3 separate regions of the Homo sapiens genome follow, and all the other regions are linked to region 3. The links are contacts of gene promoters, found by promoter capture Hi-C in blood cells and fetal thymus (Javierre and others, 2016). All regions are on one chromosome and are shown on one strand. Each heading gives the region's core, a stretch centred on a gene start or on the middle of the fragment in contact. The rest is flanking DNA. Distances are from core to core; before and after follow the strand shown.

Region 1 (2,983 bases), core at 440-2,939, 56 kb before region 3:
ATATGTCATGATTCAATTTGGTAAATAAAATATTCAAGTATTTTATTTTAAAAAATATTAAGTAATTAGCACCAAGCAAGACAGGGTTCTCTTCCTCTGAGTTGGGAGCATAGGTGAAGTTGTGTACAGATATAAATAAGATTGTCCTTATGTGATGGTTAATGTATCATCTTGACTGGGCTAAGAGATGCCCAGATGGCTGGTAAAGCATTATTTCTGGGGGTGTCTGTGGGAGTGTTGGTGAAGGAGAGTAGTATTTGAATCAGTAGGCTGGATAAAGAAGATGGCCCTAACTGATGTGGGTGAACATCACCTCATCCCATGATGGCCCTAATAGAACAAAAATATGGAGAAACGGTAAATCACTCTGTTTGACCTGAGACAGCCATCATCTCCTGCCCTTGGAAATCAGAGCTTCTGGTTCTCAGGCCTTCAGACTCTGACTGGACTTATATCATCAGCCCCACCTCACCCTCCCATTCTCAGTCTTTCAGACTTGGACTGAATTATACCACTAGCTTTCCTGTTTTCCCAGCATGCAGGTTGGTCATATCTAACCAGTATCTCATTGGTTCTGTTTCTCTGGAGAACCCTAACTAATACACTTTGTCTTCATGGACATTAAGGGAGTTCCTTACAGCCTCTATTTCCTTTGCTAAACAAGAGTCAAGCTCCTCTGCTTGGGGTAGATGGGGATTGGTAGAGATTTAATAAGGAACTGGAGGACAGCAGTGAAGGTTAAGAATGGCCACCAAGGGGAATGGGAGAGGGCAATGACCAAGGATAACAAAAGAACAGTTGAGGTATTCTACTGGCCAGCTGAGATTGGTACACTGCAAATGTGATGTGTTTCATCTTCATGGTTCCTTGATTTTTTTCCCCAGCTGCACTAGGTAGAGGAGTTAGAGAAGCTGGATTGCTGGACTCATCCTGGATGGGGGGTTTGTGGGATGGACACTGCAAAAAGCTAATGGCTTAAGAGGGCTACTTTATAGAGGGCTAATAAAAGAATAGCTCCCTGGTCAATCATTGGGTTCAGACTTGGTATGAAAGAGGAGTCAGAAAGGGACTGATAACCCTGGAGAAAGTGGAGTTGACATAAAAAAAATGGGTTTAATGAGAATGAGGAGTGAGAGACAGATCAGGATATTGGGCTTTCAGTGTTGCAGAGATAGGACTCTTTTGGTTGATGACATGATAAGAAGAGGTTGTAAAAGGAAGGGGAAATTGTAGAAATGGTTGGTGTATTAAAGTAGACCAACAGATATTACCAGTAGTATATAATGGCTTAATTATAGTAGAATTTTATTTCTTGCTCATACAGATAGTCCAAGGTAGCTGGTGGGGATTTTCTGCTTCACTGTCATTCAAAGACCCAGGTGAAGGAGGCCTTGTTATCAGTTAAATAGCTTTCAAGATAATCTGGGCATTGACATAAGTTAGCATAAGGAAAAAGAATAAGAAGACTGTGCAGGTAGTTTTATGGGCCTGAGAGACGCATGCATCATCCCTTCCCATCTCATTGGCCAGAGCTTAGTCACATGGCCACACTAAGTTTCAAAGAAGCCTGGGAAATCTGTAGTTGCGTATCCTGCAAAAAGAGCAACCAGCACCTCCCTTTTTAAAAGCATTTGTTGTTTTGATGCTGCTGCTTAGTTTAGTTCTTAAGTCCAAAGATAAATTTTGAAAAGGCTAACATTGAAAGACCCTTCACAGAATTACAAGAAACTATTTTAAAATTCAGATGGAAGAACAACATCAAAAAAAGCTCATATAGCCAAAACAATCCTAAGCAAAAAGAACAAAGTTGGAGGCATCATGCTACCAGACTTAAAACTATACTGTAAGGCCACAGTAACCAAAACAGCATGGTATTGGTATAAAAACAGACACCTAGACCAATAGAACAGAATGGAGAACTCAGAAATAAGACCACACATCTACAATCATCTGATCTTTGACAAACCTGACAAAAACAAGCAATGGGGAAAAGATTCTCTATTTAATAAATGGTGCTGGGAGAACTGGCTAGCCACATGCAGAAAACTGAAACTAGACCCCTTCCTTACACCTTATACAAAATTAACTCAAGATGGATTAAAACCTTAAATGTAAAACCCCAAACTATAAAAACCCTAGAAGAAAATCTAGGCAATACTATTCAGGACATAGGCATGGACAAAGATTTCATGACGAAAACATCAAAAGCAATTGCAACAAAAGCAAAAATTGACAAATGGGATCTAATTAAACAAAAGAGCTTCTGTACCGCAAAAGAAACTATCATCAGAGTGAACAGGTAACCTATAGCGTGGGAGAAAAATTTTGCAATCTCTCCATCTGACAAAGGTCTAATATCCAGAATCTACAAGGAATTTAAACAAATTTACAAGAAAAAAACAAACAACCCCATTAAAAACTGGGCAAAGGACATGAAAAAACACTTCTCAGAAGAAGACATTAGTGCAGCCAAGAAACATGAAAAAAACTCAACATCACAGATTATTAGGTAAATGCAAATCAAAACCACAATGAGATACCATCTTACACCAGTCAGAATGGCAATTATTAAACAGTCAAGAAACAACAGATGCTGGCAAGGTTGTGGAGAAATAGGAATGCTTTTACACTGTTGGTGTGAATGTAAATTAGTTCAACCATTTTGGAAGACAGTGTGGCAATTCCTCAAAGATCTAGAATCAGGAATACCATTTGATTCAGCAGTCCCATTACTGGGTATATACCCAAAGGAATATAAATCATTCTATCATGAAGATACATGCACATGTCTGTTCATTGCAGCACTATTCACAATAGCAAAGACATGGAATTAACCCAAATGCCCATCAATGATAGACTGGATAAAGAAAACGTGGTACATAGACACCATGGAATGCTGTGAAGCCCTGAAAAGGAATGAGACCATGTCATTTGCAGGGACATGGATGGAGCTGGAAGCCATTATCCTCAGCAAACTAATGCA
Region 2 (2,701 bases), core at 145-2,644, 34 kb after region 3:
CATTTTACCCAGAAGTGAAAGTCTCATACTCACACTTTAAAAAAAAAATCCCTTGTTATTCCTATCTCAATATTTTGTGCATAATACACAATAACTTGTCATGCGAGTTTTTAATTAATGAATAAAGAGATAATTGCCCCCAGTGAGATAGTAATATTTTACTATGAATTTAATGCTCACCGATAAACAAAATACCTTCAGTTCAAGAAAGAATGTGGGCCGGGCATGGTGGCTCACACCTGTAATCCCAGCACTTTGGGAGGCCAAGGTAGGTGGATCACTTGAGGTCAGGAGTTGGCCTGGCCAGCATGGTGAAACCCTGTCTCTACTAAAAATACAAAAAAATGAGGCAGGCGTGGTGGTGCATGCCTGTAATTTCAGCTACTCAGGAGGCTGAGGCAGAAGAATCGCTTGAACCCAGGCGGCAGAGGTTGCAGTGAGCTGAGATCGAGCCACTGCACTCCAGCCTGGTTGAGAGGGAGACTCACCTCAAAAAACAAAAAGAAAAAAAATGTGGTCCATATTCAATATTCATTTAATTCTTACAATACCTCTTATGTAGGAGTTCCGATAATGATCAGAAGGCTAGAGATAGCTACTATTTACTAAGTACTTATTATGTGCCAAGCACCATGCTAAGTATATATAAAAACTCATTTACATATATTTACATATATTAATTCATTTAAACCCTACAGTAAGCTGGAAGATAGGTATTTCTGTCTTCATTTTCACGAGGAAATCAAGGCTGGGAAAGGTTAAATGACTTGTCTAAGTGCTCAAAGCTGATTAATGGAAGAGCTGGGATTCAAACACAGTATGTCTAGTTCCCAGTCTAGATATTTTTCACTGTACTTCAGCTTTTTGTCAGGTATGATACCACAGTTGTCCTGTAGGATTTAATTAAAATACCTGGAATTCCCCAACTTATACCTTTCCTAAGTACTCCAAAAATATAAAATATAATTATGAAGGAGCTATCCCAAGATGATACTGAAAACACTTACAAGTGGGCAGATGGACTTGGTTGCCTCTTAACGGTAGAAATAGTTTTGCCTTATTTACCTGACATTACATTGCGTGGTCTCAGATTTGGATAGCAATAATAATTTTTAAGATGGATGATTATTTAGGATTAGGGATATGTCTGTAGCCATAGTATCGAGTAACCCTGAACCTCACAGGAATTAAACTTATTACTTGGAATTCATTAGCACCTCACTCTTAACCTCTGAGTTAACTAGCCACAGATCAAATAGATCAAATTGCACTTTATAATGGAATAATATATTATTAAAAATGAAAGCCATTCCATTTGTTTATTAAAAATTCATTACTTAAAAAAAAGGCCTAATGTCACATGTTAAATTATTTGTTGTCATTTGGAAAAAGAGAAAGATTTACTTAAAAAGAACGAGTCAGCCATTTTAGATCCTGAGTGAATAAAATGCATGTTTCTTTGGTGCCAACTAGATTTCCCCTTATTCATCTATTTCTCTTAAAATGCTTGTAGAAATATTTTGATGCAATGCTTCCATTCAGGGTACAAAGGAGATGAAAGAAAAATACTCTGGCAGAGTATTTAATCAGGTATATTATTAGATAAGGATAGCTTTAGTTAAAGCAGCATCTACAGATTAGAATTCCTTCTTTTTAAAATGTTCATGGAAAATAAGTGATATAAACTTCTCTTCACCAAATAAGAATTTTAGGAAATAAAAGATTATCAAAAGAGTCCTGGATTCTTTATTATTTCTGCCTGTAAGCTATTATTATTCTGTAAGTGGGGAAATTACTATAAACTGTCATACTTTCAGAAAGAATTGTCTTCACCTAAACACCTCCTTTATGTGTATAATTATAATATCTCTTATATATGTGTGTATATATATCTTACATATATATAAATATGTGGATTTAGCTACATACACACATATATACATATGTACACATAGGGTATATATGTACTATATATGCCTCTATAGCTTATATATGTCTGAATGTATATGAGCTAAGCTAGGTCTTTTGTGTAAATTATTATATAGACATTTCTTGATATTTCAAGATGCTTCCAAATCCATTTTATAATTTCCTCATCATAAAAGTGTGAGATGTTTATAAGAGAAGAAATCATGGTACAAAGAGTTAAGTTAAACGTTCTGTCCGAGATCACAGAGCAGAAGCCAGATGAGAGCCCGGTTGCCCGATGCTCCCTGTTGACGATGCTGCCACCCTCGCTTGATAGGCTTTGCTCCAGCTGAGTCTGAGAAGGACACCATGTCCCCATTTCAATTTCCTTGAATCAATTCACTCAAACAAAAGGTCACTTTAGACAGAAATCCAGTTTGACTGATTTCTCTCACTGTATTGACTAGTTTAAATAAAATGAGCAAATCAGTGTCTTTATTTCTGTGTCACACAGACATAGCCCATATACTAACCAGGTGCTGTAACACCAGCCTCCACGACACATTTAAAACCCTGTCTTCTGAATTAAATACCTTTCTCTCAAATTAGAAAGTGACTAAAAGGCAGGACAGAAAAAAAAAAAAAAAGATAGCTGATGACCCCTTCCTAAGCAAACATTTTTCAAATACAAAGGCTAAAAAAAAAAAGCTGTGTTTAAAAATTGCAACCACCAGGGAGCAAATGTATCGATCGTGTCATTATTTTTTTCCTCCTCGTTGCTAGGATGTGGTCT
Region 3 (2,939 bases), core at 122-2,621:
ACTTTGGGAGGCCGAGGTGGATGGATTCCCAGGCCGAGGTGGGTACACTCCAGCCTGGGCAACAAGAGCAAAACTTCATCTCAAAATAATAATAATAATAATACCAATGGAGGAATGGGTAAGAAAAATATTTCTTCATTTAACCTGCAGAAAGCTGTGAATCTACCAAATACAGCATAGTCTTGGCCTCAGGGCAGTGAGTTTCAAACTTTAGGGTACACCAGCATCACCAATAAGCTTATTAAAAATATAGATTCTTGAGCCCAACTGGAAGAATTCTGATGTAGCAGGTTTGGAATAAGTCCTAGAATTCTGCCTTTTTTGCAGGCACCACAGGTAATTGGGCAGGTGGTACAGAGTCCTCCTCCCAAAACTCTGTCTTAGGATAGAGACACAAGCCTTCCCCTTTTCTATGAATCCTGAGAATTGTGAACAGTTCTAGTGCAACCACAGAGGTAATCTGATTTACAAGGGTTCAGTTTGGTCTGGATCCTCTGATCTGGAACTATTATAGTTATCATTGTGATTATCAGAGAGACAGATTAGGGGCAGCATTATTTCCAGGCATGATGTAAACTGCTATTTATTATGATGGCAGCTTTAATAATTGATGCAAAAGTATGCATTAAAGAAATTATTTTCATATGTCTATCTACTCCTTCCCTGATTCACAAAGAAATTGGTCTCACCTTTTTATAGTTGTTATGGTAGTGGGCCATTTTATTTTGGTTTTCTACTTCAGATTCAGCTTCGAGAATGAGAAAGCATAGTTTGGGCAAAATAGATGTTTGTAACATTTTTTATTAACCTGAAGAGTGGGTGATCAATATGTTTACCTATTGCATAGCAGCCTGAAGCACCACATTGAGTGGCTAAAACCAGGAAGATGGAGAGAATATGTAAACATCTTTGGTAAAATACAGTTAAATTTACTGTTACTTTGAAGCAACCCTTTGAAGTATCCCTTAGCAACTGGTTCCTTAAGACAGAGATTATTAAGTGACAGATCCTAATTATTACTAAGACATAAGGTTTTATCATTTCTGTTTAATGTACGAACCACCTGCATTTGCTCTCATTCATTGAGTCAAACAGGAGAAGACATGAAATATATTTAACATCTACTTATTAAAATGAAGTCCCCCTGCCCAATGAATTTCATACAACAATGTTCACTCCAAAGAGTGAACTATCTTTCCCTATTTTTCTGCAGAACTTTTTGATGACTTTGCAAACCAGTCAACAATTCAGCACAAAGGCATCCAGAGTCACGCTGGCATGTTGTGACAGAATCGCACAATTACATGGGATCCATCCCACTCTGAAAATGCCCCGAACAGCGAACAGCACAGGTAAATCAAATCAAACGTCAGAGCCAGCACAGCCTGAGAGCGCCTTGAAACTCAGACTCCACAATCTATGGGGAAAGTGTCCTGCTGTGGCATGAAATAAATGAAACAGAAAATGATGGCAAGACTGCTAAGAACATCCTTTGCTTTGCTCTTCCTTGGCCTCTTTGGGGTGCTGGGGGCAGCAACAATTTCATGCAGAAATGAAGAAGGGAAAGCTGTGGACTGGTAGGTAAATGAAATGGAAGGACTGCTGCATGCAAACAGCCTCGGTACAGAGTTGGCCTGGCTCACTGCGAAGTTCCTAAGGGGAATGTCCATTCTCTTTCCTCCCTTTACAAATAAAGGAAGTTAAAGTGTGCAAATCGGCCAAACTCCCAGGCAGGGGTAGGCTTCTGAGTGACGGAGTTTCCCCCTGAAAAAGAGCTGAGCAGCCCCTCTTGGGCCTGATTCACTGTTCTCAGCGGGGCAAGGCTGGTAGCCACAGAAGTGGGATTGAGCTGACAGCTTCTGTGAGCTGGCAATTTCTTTTAATTACATCATGGCTTTTCCTAACAGAACACTTCCAACATCCTTTGAAAGACTGACAGAGTAAAGAAGGCAGATTATTTTTTTCTGAAAATGGAGCATGTGCTGCTCCTTATGAGAAAGAGAAGGGGGACCTGGTCACACACAGCACTGTTTGCCTAACATCGGTTTGTTTGGAAGCAGAGGCAGCTGTTGCCATGATTGGTACGTAGGCCACTGGCCTGTTGTACAGTGTCAAAGACATTAAATGCTGTGTTGCATTATAGTCATGGGTTCTCCTAAAGCTTTAACTACTTTTTCACCCTTTAATTGGGATATTTAGGTTTGCCATAATGGTTGGTGTCAAGCTTTTTGTGTAAACTTCAGGCTACAGAACACAGATATACTCAAGGCAGTAGTCAGTCTTTCCTCAGTTACTGAGCTCAACAGAGGTCTGTGTGGAGTTTTGAAAATATAAATATGAACGAAACATGGTTCCTACCCTCAAGGACCTCACAGTTATGTGGTAAGGGCATAGGTGGAACACTGGGGAACAGAGAGCCCAGAAAACTTCTCTAAGGATGTAATTTTTGAGCTAAGTTTTAAGAACAATTAAGAAGTAGCTGGAAAAAGAAGGGATGTGCAAGAGCATCTCAGGCCAATGAAGGAGCAATGAGGAGGTAGAGAGGCAAGAAGCAACATGGAAATTTGGGAGTTGCAAAGTAGTTTGGTATTGCTGGAACTTCAGGAGAATACAGGAAGATGACCGGAGGTGAGGTTAGAGAGGTGGGGACAGCCAAGGGGTCTGTGTGCTGAGCTACAAGGTTTGAACTTGACATTGAAAGGGAGCTATTGGAGGACTTCACGCAGGGGTGTGAATGGTCAGATTTGCACTTTAGGAAACCCATTGGCAGTACTATGAGGGCTGGATGGATGGGGAGCAGCCTAGAATCACTGAGACCAGGAGCACTTTTGCAGCATTACAGGTGAGAAGAGGTGTAGACCTGAGTTAAAGAAGCGGTCATGGAAATAGAAAGAAGGACATGCTGAGAAGACTTGGTGATGGATGGGCTGCAGCCAGTA

The links. The method cuts DNA at HindIII sites, captures the fragments that hold promoters and counts their contacts. A CHiCAGO score of 5 or more calls a contact.
Region 1: a fragment that was not itself captured here is called in contact with the fragment with the promoter of DNASE2B in region 3 in 1 of 17 cell types (M0 macrophages); the score reaches 5.1 in M0 macrophages.
Region 2: a fragment that was not itself captured here is called in contact with the fragment with the promoter of DNASE2B in region 3 in 1 of 17 cell types (M2 macrophages); the score reaches 5.4 in M2 macrophages.

The regions. Positions count from the first base shown.
Region 1 is chr1:84,340,618-84,343,600 of GRCh38, forward strand. The region is part of intron 3 of SAMD13 (sterile alpha motif domain containing 13); the gene reads left to right. Among named protein-coding and RNA genes, the nearest start is that of SAMD13, 40 kb to the left of the region's middle. The HindIII fragment of the contact is 9,729 bases long and covers 1-2,983 here.
Region 2 is chr1:84,431,222-84,433,922 of GRCh38, forward strand. No RefSeq gene overlaps it. Among named protein-coding and RNA genes, the nearest start is that of DNASE2B, 34 kb to the left of the region's middle. The HindIII fragment of the contact is 4,985 bases long and covers 1-2,701 here.
Region 3 is chr1:84,397,113-84,400,051 of GRCh38, forward strand. It overlaps DNASE2B (deoxyribonuclease 2 beta), which reads left to right and starts at 1,372. Exons shown (of 6, transcript NM_021233.3): 1 at 1,372-1,577. The coding sequence starts at 1,453. The HindIII fragment of the contact is 1,924 bases long and covers 236-2,159 here.